2 separate regions of the Homo sapiens genome follow, and region 2 is linked to region 1. The links are contacts of gene promoters, found by promoter capture Hi-C in blood cells and fetal thymus (Javierre and others, 2016). All regions are on one chromosome and are shown on one strand. The core of a region is centred on a gene start or on the middle of the fragment in contact, and the rest is flanking DNA. Distances in the headings are between cores, read along the strand shown. Region 1 holds the start of HMGXB4 (HMG-box containing 4). Region 2 holds the start of FBXO7 (F-box protein 7).

Region 1 (5,026 bases), core at 1,661-4,160:
GAATTATATCAATTTATTTGAAAACAGCATATCCTCTCAATGGCACTAAAATACTGAGTTTATAAGAAAAATATATAGATTATATAGATTTTCATAGGCTGATAATGCCAAGAACCAATGGAGACCTCAAATTAAACACTTTCTGTGCATGAATTTTGGCAAAGAATATTTCAGAAATAATGGCAAAAAACTTAAATATTCAATGTCATAAATACAGTCATCAGTGTTTTGTCAACAACAAAATGCACTTGTATATGTAAGCAAAGGCTGGTCCTGAGACTTATAACAGGCCTTCCCTTTGGTAACATCAAAATCAACATAAAACAGAGTTGGGCAACCTAACAGAATAGAAATAAGTACCTCTGAAGACAGAAAGAAAGAAAGATGACTGTATCGTGGTCTCGTTACTGGCTGCTTTAAAAAACTAGTGGATTAAAAAGTTGTGAGAGGGAATAGAAAATTAGGAACTGCTTCTCAGAGGCACAGGCCAACCAAGAAAATGTGGTGTTGGCATTACATATATTAGGTCTACCACTGTTTAAATTTTCTTAAAAACACTGAAGAGCATTTTATAAATTACTGGATTAAATAACCTGAAGAAAAAAGAAGGAATGAGGCCTGAAGACACGTCCAATTCACTGAAGAACTGGGGCAGCCAAGAGCTTGAAAAACTAAAATTAAACACAACGGACTGTATCAGCCACAGCTTGGGCAGACCGATGGGCCCTGAATTTCTACGTTCTTTAAAATCAGGATATTATTGCAGCTCAGGGTTTAGTTTTGGAAAGATACCAGATAAATCTCAAGCAACAGTGTGAAAGAAAGGCAGAGTTCAGGCAACATTTATATAAGATCAGATGAACCCCTGATATTCCTTCCAGGTCTTGAATACAATCTGTGAAAATTCAGAGTTCAGGGGTAGAGAGTAGATTGTGAGGATTAATGAAAATGAATATTAGGTTTGATTTTCACATTAGAAAAGGGAGGTCATAATTACATTAAATGTTGGCAAATGTGAAACAGGTGTTAAAACCCAGTCTCAATTCAATAATTTGGGAGTTTATAAAATTCAATGTTGTCAACTCCAAGAGGCAAGAATAATTTTGTTTGTCTCAGTGTGCTAAGATATGACAACATAAGTAAAAGTTCACTATTTCATACTGTTGATACAAGTAAAAAACTGGTACCATAAAAATGTATACTTATGAAATGCACAAATTGTTAAATAGCTCTTCGGGGACTTTTCTTCAGGATATGAAAAAGGAGGGGGCAGAGTTGCTCTTTCCCTGGTAGATAAGCATACAAGTTATGTTCAGGCATAGGCCTTTGGGATGACCAAAGTAATCAGGAGGAAAAAGTCCTCAGATATAGCACTTTGTCATTTTGAAACTTCAAATTACAGTTAAAAAACAGGTTTCAGACTTTTTTTGAGGTAACTTGAGCTCCTGCAATCAACAACCTTCTTCACCCCATAATGTAAATGAGTATCGAAAAAAAGGAAACAAAGTAAGCCCCGTCACACGGACAGTAAGAGAAATTCTGAACTCCAGGTCTGTTCCAGGATGAGAGCCATGTCCAAGATTCTGCATTCTCTTCTTCCAACCACTCCTTTCAAGAACTCAAAATGCCAGTCAGTGCAGGTAAAGGAAGATGCACATCCGCCGGTTGCCAATTTCTGAAATTTTCTTGTTACTTCTACGATACAGACAAGTGATGCCTTCTCAACTTCGTCCAGGTTTCTTCCAATCTCCGAACACGGTGACTCCGAATCCTCTTGCCACTCCCTTCTCCAGGGACCTACCTAGGCAGCACTCCCAGCCCCTGCCAGCTCTGGAAGCTGCAGAGATCCCGACAGTCGGGGATGGGGATTGAATCCTCTCATTGCAGTGCAATTAAGCGGAACCACGACCACCGCACAGATTGGCTGACAACACACATTCCATAAGACCAGCAATCGAATTTTGAGAAGCCTTGTCCAATCAACAGGCTTTATTTGGGATTCAGTTTTTTACTTTGTTCTATTAGGAGGAAATATAATCAGCCACCAGCTTAGCCCTCCAAAAGAGGGGACAGAGATGTTTCTCCGCTTTTGCACGCTATAAAGTGAATCTACAAGTAGTAGTTGGTGGAGGGAAAATGGGCCTGCATGGAGAAGGCGCCCACCACGAAGGCACGGCCAAGCCGGGTTGCACGCAAGAAACACACAAAATACCAGGTGATTTACACAAACAGCCCCCAGGACCACCATTTTTGTGGTCCCCAAGGCAAACCAGTGGGATTCTCCCGGCAGTTTTGCGGCAACAGCTAGCTCAACAAAGCTCTGTGAAGAGGAAAAGAAGAAAGCTCCTCGTACTTTCTCCTGCCAGCCGCAGCCCCAGCCCTCCCGTGGCCGCGGCCACGAGCCCTTTCCCCCTGACAGCCCGAGGGACCCCCGCATCGCGGGTTCCGAGCCGCACAGCTCGACCTGAACCCGGGTTCCCGCGTCTCCGGCGGCCTCACGGCGCCCCCGAGGGCGGAGACGGCCCGGGCAGGGGGAGGGGCGGCCCGGGTCCGCAGGCCCCCGGGGCGGCCGCACGCCCCCTCCCGGCCCCGCAGCTTTCCCGCCTTCCCCGTTTGAACAGCTCCCGCCCGCCCTCCTCCTTCTGCCCGCTCCAGCCCCTTCCTGGGGGCGGCTGCGGCCGCTACTCCAGTCCCCGGCTCGGCCCCTGGGCTAGGCCGCGAAGGGCCTGGGGCACCCCAGAGGTGATGTCGCGGGCCCAGGGCGGCGGGTGGCGACGGGGCGGGGCTGCTGCCGCCTCAGGGTGGGGGCCCAGCCCGGTCTCCTGGGGTCTCCGCTCGCCGCTACCTTCACTCGGCTCGCCCGGATCCCGCCTCAACGCCGCCGATCGCCGCCATCTTGGAGAAGGAGAGAAAAGCGCGAGCGGCCAGGGAGCCTCAGTCGAGCCCAGAGCGCAGACTCGGGCTCCGGAGGGGGAATCCCGCTCGACCAAGAGCGCCGAGCGCATCGAATAAAACTCGGAGCCTGCTGAGCGCGGGAGCTGGCACTTATTTATTGAGAATTTGCTATGTCCCAGCCTTGCCCTAGAAGCTTACAAACATTATTTCACTTAATCCTCACTGTATTCCTGTCGCATTTTGCAGAAGAGAACCAGGCTGAGAGAAGTTAAGTGACGTGCCCAAGGATACACAGGTAGTTGGAATGTGAGACCGAGTATTACTCCAAGTCTTCTGATTCTGAATGCAGTGCTTTCCCCAAAATACTATGCTGTTTCTTTCAAGATATTGTTATACAGCAGTTCTCCTCTTTGCAACACCTAGATCTATGCAGATTAATAGCAGTGTGCTTATTTGGACTTCAGCATCTACATTTGAACATTTGGCATATTAGGGGTGAGGTGAAGAACTTATCTTTGTAACAATGTACAGTAAAATAATTTGCATGGCGAATCATCTACATTTTTTAGTTAGAAACAGTCTTCAGAGAGAGAGAGGAAGAGATGTCATATACAGGCGAGAACACAATTTTTCTGATTTGCCATTGAGAACTTCGACCAATGAGTAGAAATTACAGTGTATAGAACTTGGTTTGATATGAAGAAGAACGCCAGGGGCGGTGGCTCACGCCTGTAATCCCAGCACTTTGGGAGGCTGAGGTGGGTGGATCACCTGAGGTCAGGAGTTCGAGACCAGCCTGACCAATGTGGTGAAACCCCGTCTCTACTAAAAATACAAAAAATTAGCCAGGCGTGGTGGCGCGTGCCTGTAATCCCAGCTACTTAGGAGGCTGAGGCAGGAGAATCGCTTGAACCCGGGAGGCGGAGATTGCAGTGAGCCGAGATTGCGCCACTGCACTCCAGCCTGGGGGACAGAGTGAGACTCCATCTCAAAAAATATATATATATATGAAGAATAACTTATTTTTCTAGTACAGTTCAGTAGTACAATGGGCTTCCTTGTGAGTAGTGAGCTCCCTCCCACTGGAGGAGCGCTCAAGCAGAAGCTGGTGTTACTGTAAAGCAGAGAAGTTAGAGATGTAGATTGGCTTCTAGAGTTGTGAACCCCATGCAACGTAAAATCATGTGTGCAGTGTGTGTTTTCCTAGGGCCCAGGCCCCATAAAAAATTAAGAACCTCTGTCCTAGTGTATTTTCCATTGCAGAGTTGGGTGAGTGCTTGAAGACGAGGTAGTCATGAGACCAATAAAAGCAAGGTGATTTGTCTGAGACCACACTCTAATCAGTGATCAGATAAAGATGAAAAGCCAGATTGTTAGACTCTGGTTCAGTGCTCTTTTTGCTATATCATGCTCTCTCCCCCTCTGCACTGAGTAGAAGATTGATTCTGTTTCTTACAACTGTGAGATGCTGAGATGTTAAAACACCTGAGATAAAGTTGCTGAAATCATTTGCAAAATGTAACTGCAAATACTTAATAAAAGTAGCATGGCCTTTTTCTCCGCAGCTCCCATCCTACTCACCAAAAAGACAGGCAATGAGTTTCACCAAAAGGTGTTAGATTGCATTTCTGGGACACCCTGCCTGACGTTAGGCTTCCCTTTGAGGCATTTAAGAGCCCTAATGATGTATTTCCTTTTTGTTCTTCAGAGCCCTAAATCCATTGGTCAGGATGATTTCAGTTGTGACAGAAACCCATTTCCATGTGTTTCCCCAGAAGAGGGGAATTTATTGGCTCACATGATTGAAATTTCCAGTACCTGCAGACATGGTCACTTCCAGGGAGGTAACTCAAGCTGGTCCTTTGACGTGTCTGTGGTGCTCTCCTCTGTTAGCTTTATTCTCAGATTCAGGTGATGACTCCAGCAGCTCCAAGCTTCATCATCTTTCCTGCTAGCAGTGTCCCTGTGGAGGGAGGTTTTGTTTGTTTGTTTTGAGACAGGGTCTTTCTCTGTCACCCAGGCTGGAGTGCAGTGGCACGATCACAGCTCACTGCAGCTTCGACCCCCTGAGTTCAAGCAATCCTCCCACCTCAGCCCCCCAAGTAGCTGGGACCACAGGTGCATGCCACCA
Region 2 (5,156 bases), core at 378-2,877, 2.8 Mb after region 1:
TTTCACGTCCTTTCAAGACTGCCTAATTTAAAAATAATAAAATATATATATACTTGGTAATACCTTTAAAAAATAAGTTTGAAGATTTATTCAATCTTCTACTCGTAACCTACTGGTAACGATGCCAGTATGTAAAACACACAGGTTTAACAACAAGAAATAACAGTAGGCATGTCACTTACTATAATGTTTAAAAGGAGTTATGTCAGTATCTTATTTAGGGTTTTTTTTTTAATCAGGAAGAAAACAGGCTTACTTTCAATCTAATAATGTCTTAACCAGGAAAATGAAAGGGCGAGAAGTTCAGAATAACGGCCTCATTTTACCCAATTCCCTAAAAATAAGGTGAAAACGTAGGAAGGTTTGCTTTTGTTTTGAAGAATTCACCTAAAAATCCCCAGGGAACATCTTTTTCATTTTTCCTTAGCACACTCAAGTTTCAAATTCACTAGCTCAGTATTTGAAGAGGACCACTCTTACCTTGCCGCTTTACTCCCAAATTATTGTCCCCAAAAAGTATCTTTTAGGGAAACAAAGCAGCTTCACCTGCAGTCCCACAAACCAATAACAGAATATGATCCTTTCTCAACTTTACTGCCCCCAAACTGCAAGCTCTCAAGATCAACGTTTGCCTCAGTTTTAGCAAAAAAGCAACATTTCACCCAAGAAAATGAAATGGTCTGAAACACGCCTACACGCTGTCCTTTCTAAAACTTTTCGGCGGCGAAGTCCAAGCGCTCACCGCGGTGCTCGGCGCATGAACACAACAGAATCTAAAATTGTTGCCGCTTCACAGCAGCGATACAAGCTACCGGTGGCCTCGGATTGAGGGCAGATTTTTAACTTCTAGCAATTTCCAAACTTTTTCATTGAAATACTCCAACAGCTGAAGAAATTAACTCGGACCCCTCACAGTCCAGAAAGGTTTAACCCAAGCCAAGCTCATCATTTCCAACTTGAAATCTAACCAGTTGTGGAAATTGTGCGTTCCCTCCTCTCCCTGGTTCCGTTTACTGCAAAACCAGAAGCCATGACTCACCGAGGAGGGGACCAGAGCCCCCGGGAGGCCGGGCCATGTTCTCCAGGAGCCGGACCCCAGCCGACCACCCGCGCTTCCCGTCGCCTGCACCCTCCGGCTCCGCGACGCCCGGAAGAGCCCGGGCCTCCCGTGAAGGCCCCCCCGGCGTCCCCGCACTTGGCCTATCGCCCGGCCACGCCCGCGCCTGCAGCCCACAGATGACGCCAACCCGCCCTGCACCCACCCCAAGCACTCCCCACTCCCCGCGGGCCGCCCAGCCCCGGCCCCAGCGTACCTGTACCCCCAGGTGCACAGCAGGGACTGCCTCAGGTGCGAGCGCAAATGCCCCAGCGTCGGCTCCGTCTCGGGCACCTCCAGCGGCCAGGTCCGCTTCAGAAGCCGCACCCGCAGCCTCATGACGGCGGCAGGCGGCCCGAGGGGCCTGGACCCGGAAGCGGCGACGGGGACGGCGGCGGGGCCGAGCAGCTCCCGCCCCAAACGGCGACGACCCCGGACTGGCGACTACCGGAGCTGAGGGGTAGCTGAGGCGAAACGGGGAAAGAGCCCCGCCACAGTGGCCGCCCTGCCACTCGGTCTCTGGAATAGAGCGCCCGCCCCTCTCCTGAGGGCGCCTCCTGGAGCCGACCCCGAGAGCTGGAGGCGGGCAGGCGGCCTAAAGGAACCGGGCCTCTCGGGGTCGGCCGATCGATGACTCCGCGCGCAACGGCGCTGCCTGAGAGCGCGGGCACAGTGCGCAGGCGCCGAGATGCGGCCGCTCGCTGGCATCCCAGATTTTCCGCGGCGGTGGCTGGGACTCCCAGTACTTACTCCCTGTGTGCGTGGAACAACGGTAGCGCTGATAGGGATGCTGCAGACAGACAATACAGTCGCCACTCCCCAGGACCAAGTGTCACCCCCTTTCTTCCGTGGCCCTCAGTTCCAGCGGCATCTGCTCTGAGAAGCCTTAGGTTAATCCTTAGGTTGGCCGGGCGCGGTGGCTCACGCCTGTAATCCCAGCACTTTGGGAGGCCGAGGCGGGTGGATCGTTTGAGCCCAGGAGTTCGAGACCAGCCTGGGCAACATGGTGAAACCCCCCCCCCCATCTCTACAAAAAATACAAAAAATTAGGTGTGGTGGCGCCTGCCTGTAGTCCCAGCTAGTTGGGTGGCTGAGGCGGGAGGGTCGATTGAGCCCGGAGGTCGAGGCCTCAATGAGCTGTGATCGCACCACTGCACCTCAGCCTGGTTCCACAGAACGAGACCCTGTCTCAAAAAAAAAGTAGAACTATTTGTAGCCAGTAATCTATGTCCGACAGTTTATTAGAACTCTGTGGCTGCATAACAATCACCCCAAAGTTTAACGCAATAAACATTTGTTGTCCCACAGGTTTTAGAGGTAAAGGGATTTGGGGATGCGTGGCTGGGTGGTTCTGTCTCCAGGTCTCCCATGAGATTACAAACTGTAGGCCAGGGCAGCAGTTATTGACTAGGGCTGGAGGATCGGCCTCCAGGATGGCACAGTCATGACTGTTGGCCAGAGACCTGTTTTCACCACGTGAACCTCCCCATAGGGCTGTTTGAGTGTCCCCATGACATGGCAGCTGGCTTCCTTCAGAGCAGGTGATCCCAGAGAGACCAAGGTATAAGCCACAATGTCTTTTATGACCTAGCTCCAGAGGTCACATACGGCTTTTGTCATATTTACAAACCAACCCTATGTGTGAGAGGATCCAGCCAAAGGTATGAATGCCAACAGACAGGGATCGCTGCGGGCCATCCTGGAGGCTGGCTACCATAGAGGGTCTAACTAATGATAACTTAGATGAGAGAGAGTATCAAGTTTCGTCCTTGTGTGATAACCATAGTCCAAATCCTTAGAGTCAAATAAAGTTTCTCCCAATAGGTGGCAGCACTTGTCCACATCCTGCCCTTGATTCTGCAAATAAATATGTATTGATTGCCTACTTTGTGACAGATACCCCACATGCTGGAGACTCAAGAGACCAAAAAGACATGTTTCTGCCCATGCAAAGTTTACAGTTGAGTGAATCAGCTCTTTCAGTAGAGTGTAAAAAGTCTCTGCTTTATGATAGACATAAATACAGACCTGAGGAATGGGATTGTTAGAAATGTTTGTTTTTTGATGTTGTAAAGAAATAGCACTTGAATATAAATTTAATTTTTTTAGCAAGGCCATTTTTATTTTTTGTAGAAAGGGTATACTCGCCAGCAGTTTTGTCACGAGAGTACACCGAACAAAGGAGACAGGGTCATATATAACCTGATGTGTCCACTTTACTGCTGTGTCTGGTTTTTTGTTTGTTTTTGTTTTTTTTTGTTGTTGTTGTTGTTTGAGATGGAGTCGCGCTCTGTCGCCCAGGCTGGAGTGCAGTGGCGTGATCTCGGCTCACTGCAAGCTCCGCCTCCTGGGTTCACGCCATTCTCCTGCCTCAGCCTCCCGAGTAGCTGGGACTACAGGCACCCGCCACCACACCTGGCTAATTTTTGTATTATTATTATTATTATTATTATTATTATTATTATTATTATTTTATTATTATTTTAGTGGAGATGGGGTTTCACCGTGTTAGCCAGGATGGTCTCGATCTCCTGACCTGATCCGCCCGCCTCGGCCTCCCAAAGTGCTGGGATTACAGGCGTGAGCCACCGCGCCTGGCCTGTGTCTGGTTTTTATTGGCTGGAATGGGACTTTATATTTTGTATTTGTCTTGATTGGCTAGTAATTTAGAACTTTTTAAAAGAGGCAAAGGCAGAGGAGAACAAAGCAAGGAGGAAGTAACTTGTGGAATGTTGAGAAAGGTCAACACCCCTTTAAGGAAGAGGAATAGGCTATGACTTAATGTTTGTTTGAACTAGTATAAATATGTTAGGGCAAATATTTAGGCTAAATTGTGGGAGTTAAGATTGTAAAGTACATTGATTTTTTTATTATGGCTAGCAGATATTTAAGAATGTTAGCATGGGTGTTTGAATACATTTTGGTTTTAAGAGGGTACATAGAGGAGGTTTGCCATGCCCGTAGGATTCTTTAGTAGTGAGCAGTGAGGAATGGTGCCAGGACCAGGATGACTCTGTGTGACCAGAGTGATGGACAGCATAGGTACATCCCAGATAAAGAAGAGCCTTGGGCTAAGCACAGGGTTTGGGACATATTCTAGAATGTATGGGAAGCCGCTAGACAGTTTTTAGCAGGGAGTCTTTACTATCAGGGTTCTTAATTTTCAGCAGTAGAAGCTGACTCTGGCTGACTAAGCAGAAAAGGTGTGTATTAAAAGGATGCTGTACAGCTCAGGGAATTCTAGGGAGGATGGAGAAGTGGCCCCAGGCTAAGCTTCCAAGAATGAAGCTCAGAACCAAGCTGAAAACTGGCCTGATGAGGAAAATACTAAGACTGGGATTGCTGCTGGAGGAAATCGCCATCACAACTGCTGGGATTCACTGGGGAATGGCTGCCACTGCCACTGTTAACATCAAATCCCACATGCTTTTGCAGCCTCCTGCATAATGCCAAACTTCCAAAAGAGCCTGTTTCTTCACCTTGCTCACTTCCACATCAAAAGCTCATAGGGATGTCTGATTGAGGAAGTCTGGGCCCCACACCTGGGTCCTGGCTACAAAGGAGACTGGGAATTGGGGTCTGAACTCCTTCCTCGGGGAGGCAAGACGTAGAATATTGGAATTTCCTCCCGAAAAAGGGAAGGCTATTCAAAAGATGGTGGGAAGCCTTGAATCTGACAGGTGTATACTAACTACTAGGGCAGGCTCAGATCTGTAATGTGAATCTATCACTAGGGATTATGATAGGATGTGGGGGATAGATTAGGGTTTCTCAGCCTCAGCACTATTGACATTTTGGACCACTTAAGTCTTTGTTGCAAGAGGCGGTTCTGTGTGTAGAATGTTTAGCAGCATCCATGGTCGCTATCCACAAAATGCTAGTAGAACCGTCTCCCTCCCCAGTTGTAAGAACCAAAGATGCCAACTATTCCCTGGGAGGAAATGCCACCTTGAGAACCAGTGGATTAGAGACCAGCTCTGTCTCTGTAGAAGATTTTTTTAAAATCTGCCAAGCATGGTGGTGCCCACTTACAGTCCCAGCTAACTAGGGAGGCTGAGGT

What was found. Contacts are between HindIII fragments. The CHiCAGO score rates a contact against its expected background, and 5 or more counts as called.
Region 2: a contact is called between the fragment with the promoter of FBXO7 here and the fragment with the promoter of HMGXB4 in region 1, in 1 of 17 cell types (total B cells). The highest score is 8.4, in total B cells.

Annotation. Positions count from the first base shown.
Region 1 is chr22:35,255,377-35,260,402 of GRCh38, reverse strand. It overlaps HMGXB4 (HMG-box containing 4), which reads right to left and starts at 2,910. Exons shown (of 11, transcript NM_001003681.3): 1 at 2,846-2,910. LOC105373017 (a long non-coding RNA gene) reads left to right here. Exons shown (of 4, transcript XR_938210.3): 1 at 1-2,215; 2 at 3,142-3,190. RefSeq lists a silencer at 2,351-2,850 and an enhancer at 3,116-3,616. The HindIII fragment of the contact is 10,131 bases long and covers 1-3,090 here.
Region 2 is chr22:32,471,282-32,476,437 of GRCh38, reverse strand. It overlaps FBXO7 (F-box protein 7), which reads right to left and starts at 1,627. Exons shown (of 9, transcript NM_012179.4): 1 at 1,314-1,627. The coding sequence starts at 1,435. RefSeq lists enhancers at 1,111-1,280, 866-1,366, 1,535-1,704, 1,367-1,867, 2,593-2,652 and silencers at 1,037-1,346, 1,357-1,546. The HindIII fragment of the contact is 4,456 bases long and covers 1-4,371 here.